5 separate regions of the Homo sapiens genome follow, and regions 1, 2, 4 and 5 are each linked to region 3. The links are contacts of gene promoters, found by promoter capture Hi-C in blood cells and fetal thymus (Javierre and others, 2016). All regions are on one chromosome and are shown on one strand. The core of a region is centred on a gene start or on the middle of the fragment in contact, and the rest is flanking DNA. Distances in the headings are between cores, read along the strand shown.

Region 1 (2,700 bases), core at 3-2,502, 1.4 Mb before region 3:
TTTACAGTTCATAAGGGCTGTTTGTATCATTCCCACTAGGTACATTATAATGCAAAAGACCACTACTTATGCACCTACAGGTGAAATCTAGAGAAACCAGAACGCGGATTCCAGAAACACAAAACATTTTATCTATTCTAGTAATGGTCTTCAACTTTCACTCACATAATTAAGTTCCCTGACACCCTTATGATTTGAATCATTCAAGCTTATCTACGCCCATTATTTATTCTTTCTGACTTCACTGGGTTAAACCCACTGCTGTAAAATCCTAATAATCAAAGTTTGTCTTCCCTGAATGAGGTGTTTGTTTTGTTTGCATTTGTGTTTTACAAAATAAAAAAAAAACAATGCCCACAAGGGCTGCTGCTGTCCTAGGAGTAGACAAATAGCAAATCTAAACTGTCAATGACAAGTGGAACTTTAGGTTAGTGTTACTTTGTAAAGTAATAGACTGTTTTCCAGGAAAACAGGCAGATTCATTCTAAAATCCTGAATATACATCTCACTGAAAATGATTTGCCCCCCCTTCTCCCCACTTGGCCTCATCCTCCCTTCCCTACTTGGAAAAAAAAAAAAAAGAAAGGAAAAAGAAAATGACCCATCACAAATAGTTTGACGATAGCACGCGTGAAGGCTTAGCGAGCTGTTTTCTCAGTCCCAGTCCCACCCTTTGATAGTCCGCTCTGTGATGCTAGAGCTGGGACAGTGCAAATTACTCTCTATTTAGCCAGATGGCTTCCTTCCTCTTAGAAGCATTAGACGAATGAAAGGCAGGAGAAAGGAGCAGCCGCCGTTGTTACCAGCTCTCGGCTACCATCCCACCACTAGAACTAGCTTCACCATACCCTCAGAGGTATTACTACCAGCTCTGTGGGGCTCCTCCTCTATGCTACTGGGTTCTAAAACCCCAAATTCATCCGGTTGTTCAATAGCCTTGAGTGGTGATTACTGTATGTGTTACCTGAGGGTTCCTTTGTTTTTTTTCAGTATCTGCTTAACCAATCCCATATATTAAATTCTGTGTTAAAACAATTAACATGATTTTCTTTTCTTTTTTGAGACAGTCTTGCTCTGTCACCCAGGCTGGAATGCAATGGGGTGATCTTGGCTCACTGCAACCTCCGCCTCCCAGGTTCAAGTAATTCTCCTGCCTCAGCCTCCCAAGTAGCTGGGATTACAGGTGCTTGCCACCATGCCAGGATAACTTTTGTATCTTTAGTAGAGATGGGGTTTCACCATCTTGGCCTCAAGTGATCCACCCGCCTTGGCCTCCCAAGTGCTAGGATTACAGGAGCGAGCCACCGTGCCTGGCCAATAGTATAATTTTCTAAATGGACACTAATACTATCTATTTTTATCCAAATATTATCCTAATGTCTCAATTTTCTATGGAAATGTACTATCCACACTGCTTCAACAAGAAACAAAAATAAAATCTGAAGGTCTTTCAACGTCAATTAAGACATGATGATCACTCAAATACTCAAAGCAAAATCAGTTGGACTCAACCTACACCTTTGTCAGCCTTCTCATTGTTCATTCTTTCCTATATTTCCACACTGCTACCCGAGATAATTTTTTAAATTGCAAATATGATGTTATTTTACTGATTATATCCTTCAATACCTCTCCACTGCCTTATATATGTATAATTAATATTCCTTGGCATGACATAGAGCTTCTTATGATATGCCTCCCACTTACCTCTGTAACTTTAGCTCCTGCCATTTTTCCACACTGTCAAAATTCTGGCAGTTCTCTAACCGTGCTACACTATTTTACACTTCTACATCGTTGCAAGCTCTATTCCTTTGTATGCTATGAAGTCCAGAGCTCTTTTACTGCCCAAGTTTTAGTCAGCCTGTTGGGAAGCATTAGTTATACTTTACTATCTTCCTCACCCAAGCTGGGAGTCCTGTGTTGAGCACCCTCCAAAGCAACTTTAACAGGCACTATTTGTTTACTTTTCTGTCTCTACCACAGGTCCCAGAATTCCTTTAAGATGGGCCACATTCCATATATATGCAGCTTAGCATATGCCTGGTGAATTAAAACCTTATTAATTTTTTGCTGAATTAAAAATTTCATTTAAACCTATGACTTAAAATTCAAAATAAATAACTTATTTCATTAAACTAAACTTCTGAAAATATTTAAAATCCCTCACTGGGTTTCACACCCTTGTGGACAGGTAACTGTATATCCCTAGCGTCTGGGAGAGTGTGTAAGACACAGTAGATAATAAATGTATCCTATAAGGAGTTTATACACTATGGAAAGAAAGTAAGCTTAACTTAGACCACTTTAAAGAAGTTTCAGCCTGAAGTTCTTTTTATCTCAGATATCACAACAGAAAAACATTGCTTTGTACAGGAATCCTAATTAAGTAATACCAAAGATACTATCTTCTGACAACTCTTCAGTTCCATTAATAAGCTTGGCTCATTGGTTTAAAATAGGATAATAATAATATCAAATAAACACATTAAGACTGTGATTGAAACATTTTTAAAAAAAAAGACATTAGATTTTACAAGACTTGCCATGGGTTGTATTTTTTTTTTTTTTTTGCAAAAAATTCCAAAGAAACCATATTGGACATGTTTATAATACTTACTGCATCTGAAGTTTTGCTTGGGTTATTGCTTGGATTAGAAGAATGTGAATTTGAACTATGAAGAGCACTGTGGTTGTGTG
Region 2 (2,700 bases), core at 55-2,554, 1.4 Mb before region 3:
TTCATAAAATAAAGTGGGACCTTGAAGGAGTAAGAGGTTTGGCAAAGGAAAAAAAAAAAAGGTGAGGTAGGAGTGGAGAGAGGACAATTTTGGCTATGAAAACACATACAATGGGACAACAGCATAAAAAAAAAAAAGATGCCTAGGACTGGGTAAGTGCTTTTACATGACTAGATTATAGAGAAGGCAGAGAGTGGCTGAGAAAAGAGTAATGTGAACTTTGGGTAATGGTGGCTCATAAAACAAACTTTTTTTTTTTTTTGAGACTGAGTCTTGCATTATCACCCACTGGAGTGCAGTGGTGTGATCTCCGCTCACCGCGACCTCCATCTCCCAAGTTCAAGCGATTCTCCTGCCTCATCAGCCTCCCGAGTAGCTGGGATTACAGGTGCTGGCCACCACACCCAGCTAACTTTTTGTATTTTTAGTAGAGATAGGGTTTCAACCATGTTTGGCCTGGCTGGTCTTGAATTTCTGACCTCGTGATCCATCCACCTCGGGACCTCAAACTGCTGGGAGTACAGGTGTGAGCCACTGCGCCTGGCCAAAACTTAAAACTCTTTAAACTTCAAGTTATATTTATACAAGCCAGAAACCTAGTCTGAGATGCTAACTTTCAGGCATGGACATAACAGTTCATTTCAGTGGCCTCTTATGTACATTAGATAAGAAAATGTATCTGATAAGTATATGTGGAAGCGGAGAGAAAAACTCATTTTTGGACAACTGTCATCAATACAACATAATTAAGACCTATAAAATTCAGGCTTTCAGGGTTAATGAAAAGAGTATGTTTAAATTTGTAGTTAATTTTTACTCAGCTGCGGGTAAAGAATGAGACAACAGGTCTGTAAACAAGATATTGCAATATTTTAAAACAGGGCAATGAGTTCTGGAAGTTGCCCATAAACACAGGAAAAAAGAATCAGGGACAACTTCCCAGGCATTAATCAGGACAGGGAATAGCCAAATTAGAAAAAGATTTAGGAAGATTATCTATAGAACATTAGGTGGTGGCTGTCCAATAAGCAAAGAGATATGTAGGCCTGAAAATCAAAGGATTAAAAGAAGCATGAGATACCCACAGCTATACCCAGGTAGGGTATGAAAACTGAGAAAGCAGCAAAGACAGAACACCTCAGAAAAAGTAACTTTTGAGTCACGGCTCAAGCATGAGATTAAAACAGCAGCACAGAAAGGAAAGCCAACACCATAAAAAATCAAAAACTTGTCTGGATGTGGTGGCTCACACCCATTATCCCAGCACTTTGGGAGGCTGAAGCAGGAGGATTACTTAAAGCCAGGAGTTCAAGACCAGCCTGGGTAACATGGTAAAACTCTGTCTCTATAAAAAATGCAAAAATTAGCCAGAAGTGGCAGCATATGCCTGCAGGCTCAACTACTTGGGAGGTTGTGGCAAGAGGATCACTTGAGCCCAGGAGTTTTTTTGAGGCTGCAGTGAGCCATGACCATACCAGTGCACTCCATTCAGCCTGGGTGACAGGACAAGACTCTGCCTCAAAAACAAAACCAAACCAAAAAAAAACTACAAAAATTGAGTTTCTTAGCTGCACTAGCCACATTTCAAATGCTCAATATACACGTAGCTGGTGGCTACCACACTGGACAGCTCAGACAGCAAACATTTTCAACCATATATTCTATTTGATAGAGTTGACCTAGTCTCGTATTCCCAAACATGAATAGACAACTATGAACAGCAAGCATCTGAGGAACCCAGTAACACGGGTATGATGCACCAAACTCAACCAGAAAAACATATATTTAACATGAAAAAAACTAAAAAATAACCCAAATTCTCAAGAGTATTTCTAGTAAATCAGTTATAAAATCACAAAAAGCTATGAAAAAAGCACAGCACCCAAAATAAAACTTGGAATAGGTGGATGAAATGAACACAGCTTTAATTATCAGGGGGTTGAAAGAAGATGCCAAGAGATTCTCCCCAGAGTGGAGTGTACACTTAAAAATTATCTAACTACTGTACTTACTATTTACCAGGCAAAAGAGAAGTAGAATAGAACCAAAAAACATCTAACAGGAGTTCTAAAAGGAGAAAAGTTAGAAACAAGTAAAAGAGAAGAAAAAAAGAGTGTGGAAGATGACTCTCTAACGGATAGGGTTAGACAAAAAGGCACTAAGCATTCAGGGTATTGTCCAGGGTCTTTAGAAAATTAAAATGTTGGCCGGGCGTGGTGGCTCACTCCTGTAAATCCCAGCACTTTGGGAGGCAGAGGCAGGTGGATCACCTGAGGTAAGGAGTTCAAGACCAGCCTGGCTAACATGGTAAAACCCTGTTTCTACTAAAAATAAAAAAAAATTAGCCAGGCATGGTGGCACGCACCTGTAATCCCAGCTACTCGGGAGGCTGAGGCAGGAGAATCCCTTGAACCCGGGAGGCGGAGATTGCAGTGAGCCAAGATTGCGCCACTACACTCCAGGTTCAGCAACAAGAGCGAAACTCTCTCTCAAAGAAGAAAAAAAAAAAAAAAGAAAAAGAGAAAGAAAATTAAAATGTAATTAAAAAATTAAAATGCACTAATTAGAAGTAACGAAAAAAGGCCTACACTTACAAAGTGAGATTTGTGAAGTTTTAGATCCAAGGATAAAGAAGGAAAAACTCTAAATTTTCAAGCTGGGTAGGAGAGTAAATTAGGAGTCATACATCCCAATGGGTAT
Region 3 (2,700 bases), core at 52-2,551:
TGCCCAAGCCGGTGGGGCAGGAAGGAGGGCCGAAGGGCCTAACCCCTTCCTTGCTACTCGTTGACTTCCTACCTTTACTGCATACAATTTGCCGCCTTTCTGCCCCAGATACACTTTCCCGAAGGCGCCCCGGCTAATGGGCTTCACTATGCTGAATTCCTCAATGGAGGGCGGTTTTGGCACTGCGATCCTATTCACGCCCTCCTCAGTCGCCGCGCCTCCTCCAGGCTCCTTCTTGCTTCCCGCGGTGGGATCCATCGCTGGACAGCATACAGCGGCCCCGCAGACACTGCCCCTCCGCGAGCAGCCACTCCCGCCAACTGGGTTCAAAGTGAGGCTCCGCCCACGCCGCGCGCGGCCGTGACGTCACCCCGCCGCCGCGCCCCGCCCTCGTCACCTCCCCTACGCAGACGCGGACGGAGGGGGCGTCGGGAAAGCCCCGACTTCGCAGCCTTACACTCTTCGTGGGCGGCGACCGCGGCCCCACTGACATCATTCCTCATGAGGGAGGAGGCACAAACAGTTCTGGGCCGACCAGAAAAAGGACGACTGGGACTTGACTCTGAATCGCAGGATTTGAAGAGATTTCTCCTGGCTTCCCAACGAGGCTGGTGGGAAGCGGTCCTCCTCCCATACACGACCTCCCACCCTCGCGAGGCGTAGAAACCAGTTCTGACTGTACAGTAAAGCGAGGGCCAGGGCTGAGGTCTGGAAGCTAATGAAAGCACAGAAAGTGTCGAAACTGGATGAGCAGGAAGCGAGTGGCCTCCCCTGTCATCTGACGTTTTCCCAGGATGTAATTTGCCTGACTGAAACAGATCAGGACCAACAGGGAGAGTTTTCGATTTAGTGTGAGGAAAAGAGCACTAAATTGTAGCAAAAGACCTTATTGCTCAAGGCCCAGTCAGAAGATTTCATAAGGAAGCTGTAGAAAGTCTTAAGAGGAAATCAGCCGGGCGTGGTGGCGGGCACCTGTAATCCCAGCTACTCGGGAGGCTGAGGCAGGAGAATCGCTTGAACCCGGGGAGCAGAGGTTGCAGTGAGCCGAGATCGCGCCACTGTACGCCAGCCTGGGCGAAAGAACGAAACTCCGTCTCCAAAAAAAAAAAAAACGAAGAAAAAGTCCAAAGAGGGTAAAGGCTGTTCTCCCCTTAAAAAACAGCTAAAGACCTTTGGGGGCGCTGCTCCTTGTAAATGTCAACTACTTCCGCGGGAAAGAACGCGCAGGCACTTGGCCTTGTGGGCGCTCACTTGCCCCGGAAGTACTGTTGAGTTAGCGCCTCGCCTTCCGGGGCGGATTGTCTGTCGTTGCAGTAGCTGTAGGAAGGGGAGGCCATTTTCCGTTTCTGGGAGGAGTGAGGGGCAACGGGTCGGAGAAAAAGGAAAAAAGAAGGGCTCAGCGCCTCCCCGCCGGGCCGTGGACAGAGGGGCACAGTTTCGGCAGGCGGGTGAGGTCGCTGAGGGCCCGCCGGAGATGTTTTCCTTGTCGAGCACGGTGCAACCCCAGGTAAGCCAGGCATTCAGCCCATTTTTTTTCCTCCCGCCCTGCCCGTGGCTGTTTGCAAATTGCGCTCGTGGAAGCGATTTCTCAGAAGGGACTCTAGAAATGAAGTGATGTACTCAATGCGAATCCCAGGATTGAGGAGTGGATCAGGGGACGACGCTGAGAGTGGGCCGGAGACTTCAGTGCTGACGATGAAGCTGTTGAGGGCAGAGGCGGGATGTGAGCTCAGTGATAGAGAGAGACCCTGGCTTATCGAACTGATTGCGTGGAATTTCTGCTAGAGAATCCGTCCGGCATTGTTCAGTGTCCGGCGTTCTGGGGTGGGAAAATGTCTGTACCATACATTAAAGGGAGCAGGTAATGTTCCCTTTTTTCCGACTTTCCAGTGGCTTTAGTGTTCACAGCCCCTATCCCCTGCTCTTTATTTCCTTTTAAATGGAATTTAAATTTAACCCAAACATGGTATAATATTTCGGATGGCCAGCCATGCAAGTTTTTTTCTCATTTTGACCAGAAGTAACTAAAATGTGTATTTCCGAGTCGTAAACTGTTTGCAGTTAAAATTTTGATTCAGCCTCATCCTCATCGTTTTGTAAAACAAAAGGTAGTGAAGAGAAAAATGATTTCAAGGGTTTTCATTACGCTCTTGGGCAATCACTTGTGACAATGTTTTATTCTTGCTTCATTCCAGTCTCTTTTTTTGATGGTAACATTTTAATAGATTTTTTGAGAGTTCCTACAGTTTTGCAAAGAAATAGTTTTTAAAACATTGAGTTTTTTTAAAACATAATTTTTAAGAAAATCGACACTCTTAGGTTCTTGATTTAAGCATATGATTGTGTTCCTTTGTGTAACTTTTACTCCCCCTCATTTTAAGAATTTTTAATTTTTTGTGCTAGTACTGGCTAACAAACTGAAGCAGCTGCTTGTTATTGGGCATCAGTTATGTACCAGGTGAGCAAAGCAAATGTGGAATCTTCTCTTAATATTGATATGAAGTAAATATGAGTAGGACTTAGCAAGGTGAAGAGTGAACAGGTATCACAGGCATACAGAAAAATACCTGGAGGTCCTGAGTTAGGAAAGGGTTTAGCAGGTTGAAGGAACAAAAATAAGGCTAGTGTGGCTAGAACATAGTAGTTAAAGGGGGTAGTGACAGAAGAGGTTGGAGAAAAGACTTGAGGCAGATCATACAG
Region 4 (2,700 bases), core at 180-2,679, 1.5 Mb before region 3:
CCATTCTAGAGATATCTAAGATGAGTAAGAATACCTTGTGTAGAGAGCTGAGCAGCTTGAGAAATCAGAGACGTTATGTTGAAAGCAGATGGTCCAGCAGTAAGAAACTTATGAATTATAGACTGCAGTGAGGCTTGTGTCACAGCTGCTGTAAGAACTAAAAACATATTATTTCATACATTCATATAAAAACAAGAGGCTTATGTGGCATTAGTAACAACCTGACAAGGAAGAGAACTCACAAGAAACTGGAATATTTCAACCTAGAACTCTCAAAATAAAAGCCTACTAGATAGGAGTAATACAATGGGTCCCAAATTTGAAATGATCTGAGGCAGAGAAAAAGAAACTTAATGGGTTTACAATAAAGGTAAACCAACAGAGTTTCTTTTACACTAATTAAGATGATCACCTGAACAAAGTCTCTCTACAAAATTTAACGAGTGTTCACAGGAACTTCCAATTATGTCAGAAACCTATTCATATGTGAGTGTTCAGTATGTTATATGGAATTAACTGGATAAACAACTGCTATTTCATGTGATTGCCCTTTTAGACAAGCTGGCCATTCAAATCCTATATCAAGATCCACCCTAATAAATCTAAAAATGGATACAAAAAAGGGAGTATTGGCCGGACATGGTAGCTCACACCCAGCACTTTGGGAGGCTGAGGCAGGTGGATCGCCTAAGGTTAGGAGTTCAAGAGCAGCCTGCCCAACATAGTGAAACCCTGTCTCTACTAAAAATACAAAAAATTAGCTGGGCATAGTGGCAGGTGCCTGTAATCCCAGCTACTAGGGAGGCTGAGGCAGGAGAATCGCTTGAACCTGGGAGGCAGAGGTTGCAGTGAGCCGGGATTGCACCACTGCACTCCAGCCTGGGCAACAAGAGCAAAAACTCCATCTCAAAAAAAAAAAAAAAAAAAAAGTATTTAGGAATACCATGTATTTTTGATGTGTAAGATATTTTATTATTGACATTAACTATTATTTCTTCAACTATTTATTTTGGAGACAGGGTTGTGCAATCACAGCTTACCATAGCCTTCACCTTCCAGGCTTAAGTTATTCTCCCACCTCAGCCTCCCAAGTAGCTGGAACTACAGGCGTTCACCACCACACCTGGCTAAGTTTTTGTATTTTTAGTAGAGATGGGGTTCACCATGTTGCCCAGGCTGGTCTGGGCTTAAGTGGCCCACCAGCCTCAGCAAGTGCTGGAATTACAGGCATGAGCCACTGCATCTGGCCTCCTCAAACTATCTAAAAGCCCCACTTTGCCTAAATGAAACATTTACCTACCACACAAGAGAACTGCGTGGTTAGAGAATAAAATAAAAATACAAAAAAATTAAGGACAGTAAGAACAGACTAATGACCAACTAGCCTGAGATAGCTTTATTTTTAGGATAAGAACTTAACCACTTAACACTACTTTTAAGTATATTATGTGAAAATGTACATAAAAATTGATCACTTTATTTTTATTTATTTTGAGATGGGGTCTTGCTCTGTCAGCCAGGTTGGAGTGTACAGGCACCATCTCAGCTCACTGCAACCTCCGTCTCCTGGGTTCAAGCGATTCTCGTACCTCAGCCTCCCGAGTAGCTGGGATTCACAGGCATGTGCCATCACGCCTGGTTAACTTTTGTATTTTTATTAGAGATAGCGTTTCACCATCTTGGTCAGGCTGGTTTCAAACTCCTGACCTCAGGTGATCCACCCGCCTCGGCCTAAAAATTTATCATTTTCAACAGAAAATTTTGCAGTGCTTTTAGGAATTAACGTGTGAATCTGAATAGTTTCCAAATTAACACATCTACTTTTATTCATACTTTTTCAAAGTGGCTGACTAAATATTCTGAAACGTAAGTAGCATTACTGAAAAGCAAGGCTGGAATTAAATAATGCAATTCACCAGGAAAAAAATGGCAACATTTTATCTAGTACCTATCTCCTCCCTTCTCAGAATTTTTTGAAAGTATTTTAAGTAGCTACCTGAATTCCTACTTTTCTAGTAATTAGCATATTTTAAATATTCTGAGTAATTATTTATACAGGTTTTTTAGAAACATACCAGAAGTTTTAATACCGATTTCAACAAACGCTCGATTGTTTTAATGTAAAATTTCACCATACACATTATGTATATAGAATGGCTTACCTCCAGTAACTACCAGACACATAACAAGTATTGAAAAATATACACAAGATCCAAGCACCACTAACTCAATTATACTACCAATGGTCTTAAACTACAGTGGATATAAATTTCCAAACTCCAAAAACAAAAAACAAAACAAAAAAAAGTGTTCAACTATAAATTTCAAAAGAAAACAAAGACCATTCCTAAACTGGGGATTTTACTACTTACATAACTTTGCACAATGCAAATAAATTTTTAAAAAACTGTTATGAAGATTTACCTTCATTTATTTTAGATATGTCCACATTAGAATTATTAAGCTGCAGCGTGGCTTGCAAAGCAGGAAGCAATTGTCTAAGAAGATTTGGGTCCTGAAGTAAGGGAGGTATTGGCGACTGTGGAACAGGAGAAACAGGGACCGCTGAAGCAGATGTTGGAGGTGCAGATGTGGGGTTCAGTCCAGAGGCAGAAGACGTGGAAGGAGTTGTGCAAGAATGTGATACGGGTTTGTCTCCTGATGTAGATTCTAAATAAAAAGATAATCAGCCTGAAAAAT
Region 5 (2,700 bases), core at 57-2,556, 1.4 Mb before region 3:
AGAACCAAAAAGTGAAATCCTCAAGCCTCTAGTTGTGAAAGGGATTTTTTTTTTTTTTTTGAGACAGAGTCTGACTCTATAGCCAGGCTGGAGTGCAGTGGTGTGATCTCAGCTCCCTGCAGCCTCCACCTCCCGGGTTCAAGCGATTCTCCTGCCTCAGCCTCCCAAGTAGCTGGGACTATGGGTGCGTGCCACCACACCCAGCTAATCTTTGTGTTTTTAGTAGATGGGGTTTCACCATGTTGGCCAGGATGGTCTCGATCTCTTGACCTTGTGACCTGCCACCTCCGCCTCCCAAAGTGCTGGGATTACAGGCGTGAACCACCACGCCTGGCCAAAAGGGACTTTAAAAAGCTTTGTTGCAATTTCTAAAACATCATAAGGATATATTTCCAAAAATTTTCACATACTTCATTTCTATCTCTTTTTTCTCTGTCCTTGCCTTCCTCACAAACTCAGCCTAGTATAGTGATTAAAAGCGTGGGTTTTAGAATCAGTATGACATTGCGTAGAGCTCAGGCTACATTATTGACTACCAACATCACCTTGGGCAAATTACTAGTCTTGAGGATTATCCTGCTTTGTCTCTAAACTTCACTTAATAGGGTATAGTACTGTTTGTGAAAAGTAATTGAAATTGTGTAAATAATTTAGCAGTACCTGGCACATACATGTTTCGCTACTGGTGGTTATTCATTTTGAAAAAATAGTATTGAAGTTCTGCGTATCAAGTCTTAGGAACATAGTGTTAAGCAAAGTCACTTGGGTTTTGCTCTTATGGAGTTTGTATTTTAAGAATAATACATAACTAAAAGGAGATGCTTTGGGATCTCAGATTTGTGATATGAAGCTTTCATTCAATTATGACGAAAAATAAGAAACTGCAACAAAAATTACTATCTAGGAAAGGGGAGTAAACACCAGGACGTCACCATATCAACATATGGTACTAGGCAGGGATGATGTAAATAATGCAATCAACAGATCTTGGGAGAATTACTTACTGACTCAAGATTGGCCATTTTTTAAAGTTCTTCCAAGTAATAGATACTAAAGTTCAGCTAATATTGAGAAGCATACCCTAAACCCTTTACCTGTGTCTGGCGAAACTTCAACCTGAGTTAATCCAACCATTCATTTTCTGAGCACCTCTGAGCAGTTGCATGCTGCTGAAGATTATAAAATAATAGAATATACTGATTCCACTTAAGCCTCATCATCACCAAAATCAAATGACATAGTAATTTAGAAAGTAATAAGTGCTACAGAGAACAGTAGGTAAAGTGTTGGATGGAGGAGTAATGTTTTCAAGTAGAGTGGTTATTGAGCACATGGCGTTTGAGCAAAGATTTGAAGGTGATGAGGTAGCAAGCTATACAGGTGTCTGGAAAGGAATGTTTCTGGCAAAGGGGACAGCAAGAGCAAAGGTCCTGAGGAAAGACTGCCTAATGTGTTCAGAAATAATAAGGAAAGCTCTGTGATTGAAGGGCAGTGACTGAGAGGGAAAATATTAGGAAATGAGGTGAGGTTAAAGAAGTGGGTGGAGGAACAGACTGTGAAGAATCTTATAGGCCATTATAAGAAGATTGGCTTTTATTCTGAGTTAATTGGGAAGCCATTGAAAAGTTATGAGCAGAAAATGACATGGCTACTGTGTTGAAAATATCTGTATTGCAAGGCAAGGAGCAGGGAAACCAGTTAGGATCCTACAGCATTGCCTAAGTGCTTCAGGTTACTGTTTCAAAGCGGAAAGTAAGCTTCTCATCTAAGGCCATTTTCTCTATCTGTCCTTTCTTGCCACCCCCCCTTCAGTTCACCTTATATTATCAATTATCCCTTCCTTTGTATATTCAAACTCTCTTTCATCTGGATTATTTCCACTGATCTTTAAACATAATAAATCCTACCACCAGAAAACCCTTTCTTGACCGTATACTCTTAACTGCTCACTTCAGCCAAACATCTGCTAAGTCTTATTTGTGGTACCTCACTTGTTTCATTCTTTACTCTCGTATTGACATTTTAGGTCACTATTGTTTGACATCTGCCCCCGTAATATTAGCAAAATAGATTTCCCTGAGGCAGTAGTTCTTAAAGAGGCAGTGCTGAGTCTCCAGGGGGCATTTGGAAATGTGTGGCAGTATTTTTTTTTTTTATCACTGCTATATTTTCAGTATGACTTAAGGGTGAAGGGTGCTACAGATATTTAGTTACCAGAAGTCAAAGATGCTAAACATGTAGCAATGCGTAGGACAGTTCTTTATATTTAAGACTTGTCCTGCTCAAAATACCAATGTTGTCTCATTTAGAAATAGTGTTAAGGTCACAGGTCACAAACAACTTCTTTGCACCTATGTTTAATGAACATTTTTTTCACTCTTTCTTAATCTCAGAATATTTGACATTGATAGTGCCTCCCTTTGCGTTGCCCTTCTCTCTCGCCTTCTATGGCACAACACATTTTGTATTTTCTTCTTCCTTCTCTGACTGCTCCTCTCATTACTTTTCACAGAGTCGTCCTTGTCTACTCCACTACCAAATGTTGAAGTTCTTCAAGAATCAGTCCTTTGGAGGTGATGTCATTGAAAATGATGAGTAGGAAACTCCAAGAGCGCATTTCTCCACAAAACCAGTGAATACATTGGCACAAATTGTCAGAATCAATTTTATATAAATTCTGGAAATTAGTCAAAGGTTTAT

Evidence for each region. Contacts are between HindIII fragments. The CHiCAGO score rates a contact against its expected background, and 5 or more counts as called.
Region 1: a contact is called between a fragment that was not itself captured here and the fragment with the promoter of YME1L1 in region 3, in 2 of 17 cell types (naive B cells and monocytes). The highest score is 6.2, in naive B cells.
Region 2: a fragment that was not itself captured here is called in contact with the fragment with the promoter of YME1L1 in region 3 in 1 of 17 cell types (erythroblasts); the score reaches 5.0 in erythroblasts.
Region 4: a contact is called between a fragment that was not itself captured here and the fragment with the promoter of YME1L1 in region 3, in 2 of 17 cell types (naive B cells and monocytes). The highest score is 5.5, in naive B cells.
Region 5: a contact is called between a fragment that was not itself captured here and the fragment with the promoter of YME1L1 in region 3, in 1 of 17 cell types (total B cells). The highest score is 5.5, in total B cells.

The regions. Positions count from the first base shown.
Region 1 is chr10:28,583,426-28,586,125 of GRCh38, reverse strand. WAC (WW domain containing adaptor with coiled-coil) reads right to left here. Exons shown (of 14, transcript NM_016628.5): 4 at 2,621-2,700. Among named protein-coding and RNA genes, the nearest start is that of WAC, 52 kb to the right of the region's middle. The HindIII fragment of the contact is 2,083 bases long and covers 211-2,293 here.
Region 2 is chr10:28,547,729-28,550,428 of GRCh38, reverse strand. All of the region lies in intron 3 of WAC (WW domain containing adaptor with coiled-coil), which reads right to left. Among named protein-coding and RNA genes, the nearest start is that of WAC, 16 kb to the right of the region's middle. The HindIII fragment of the contact is 4,092 bases long and covers 1-2,700 here.
Region 3 is chr10:27,152,985-27,155,684 of GRCh38, reverse strand. YME1L1 (YME1 like 1 ATPase) reads left to right here and starts at 1,301. Exons shown (of 19, transcript NM_014263.4): 1 at 1,301-1,507. The coding sequence starts at 1,475. It overlaps MASTL (microtubule associated serine/threonine kinase like), which reads right to left and starts at 333. Exons shown (of 12, transcript NM_001172303.3): 1 at 73-333. The coding sequence starts at 258. RefSeq lists silencers at 246-444, 242-451 and an enhancer at 512-571. The HindIII fragment of the contact is 10,812 bases long and covers 1-2,700 here.
Region 4 is chr10:28,608,156-28,610,855 of GRCh38, reverse strand. WAC (WW domain containing adaptor with coiled-coil) reads right to left here. Exons shown (of 14, transcript NM_016628.5): 8 at 2,425-2,670; 9 at 35-157. Among named protein-coding and RNA genes, the nearest start is that of BAMBI, 68 kb to the left of the region's middle. The HindIII fragment of the contact is 3,181 bases long and covers 1-2,700 here.
Region 5 is chr10:28,525,821-28,528,520 of GRCh38, reverse strand. WAC-AS1 (WAC antisense RNA 1) reads left to right here. Exons shown (of 3, transcript NR_033805.1): 2 at 2,513-2,573. Among named protein-coding and RNA genes, the nearest start is that of WAC-AS1, 5.2 kb to the left of the region's middle. The HindIII fragment of the contact is 907 bases long and covers 853-1,759 here.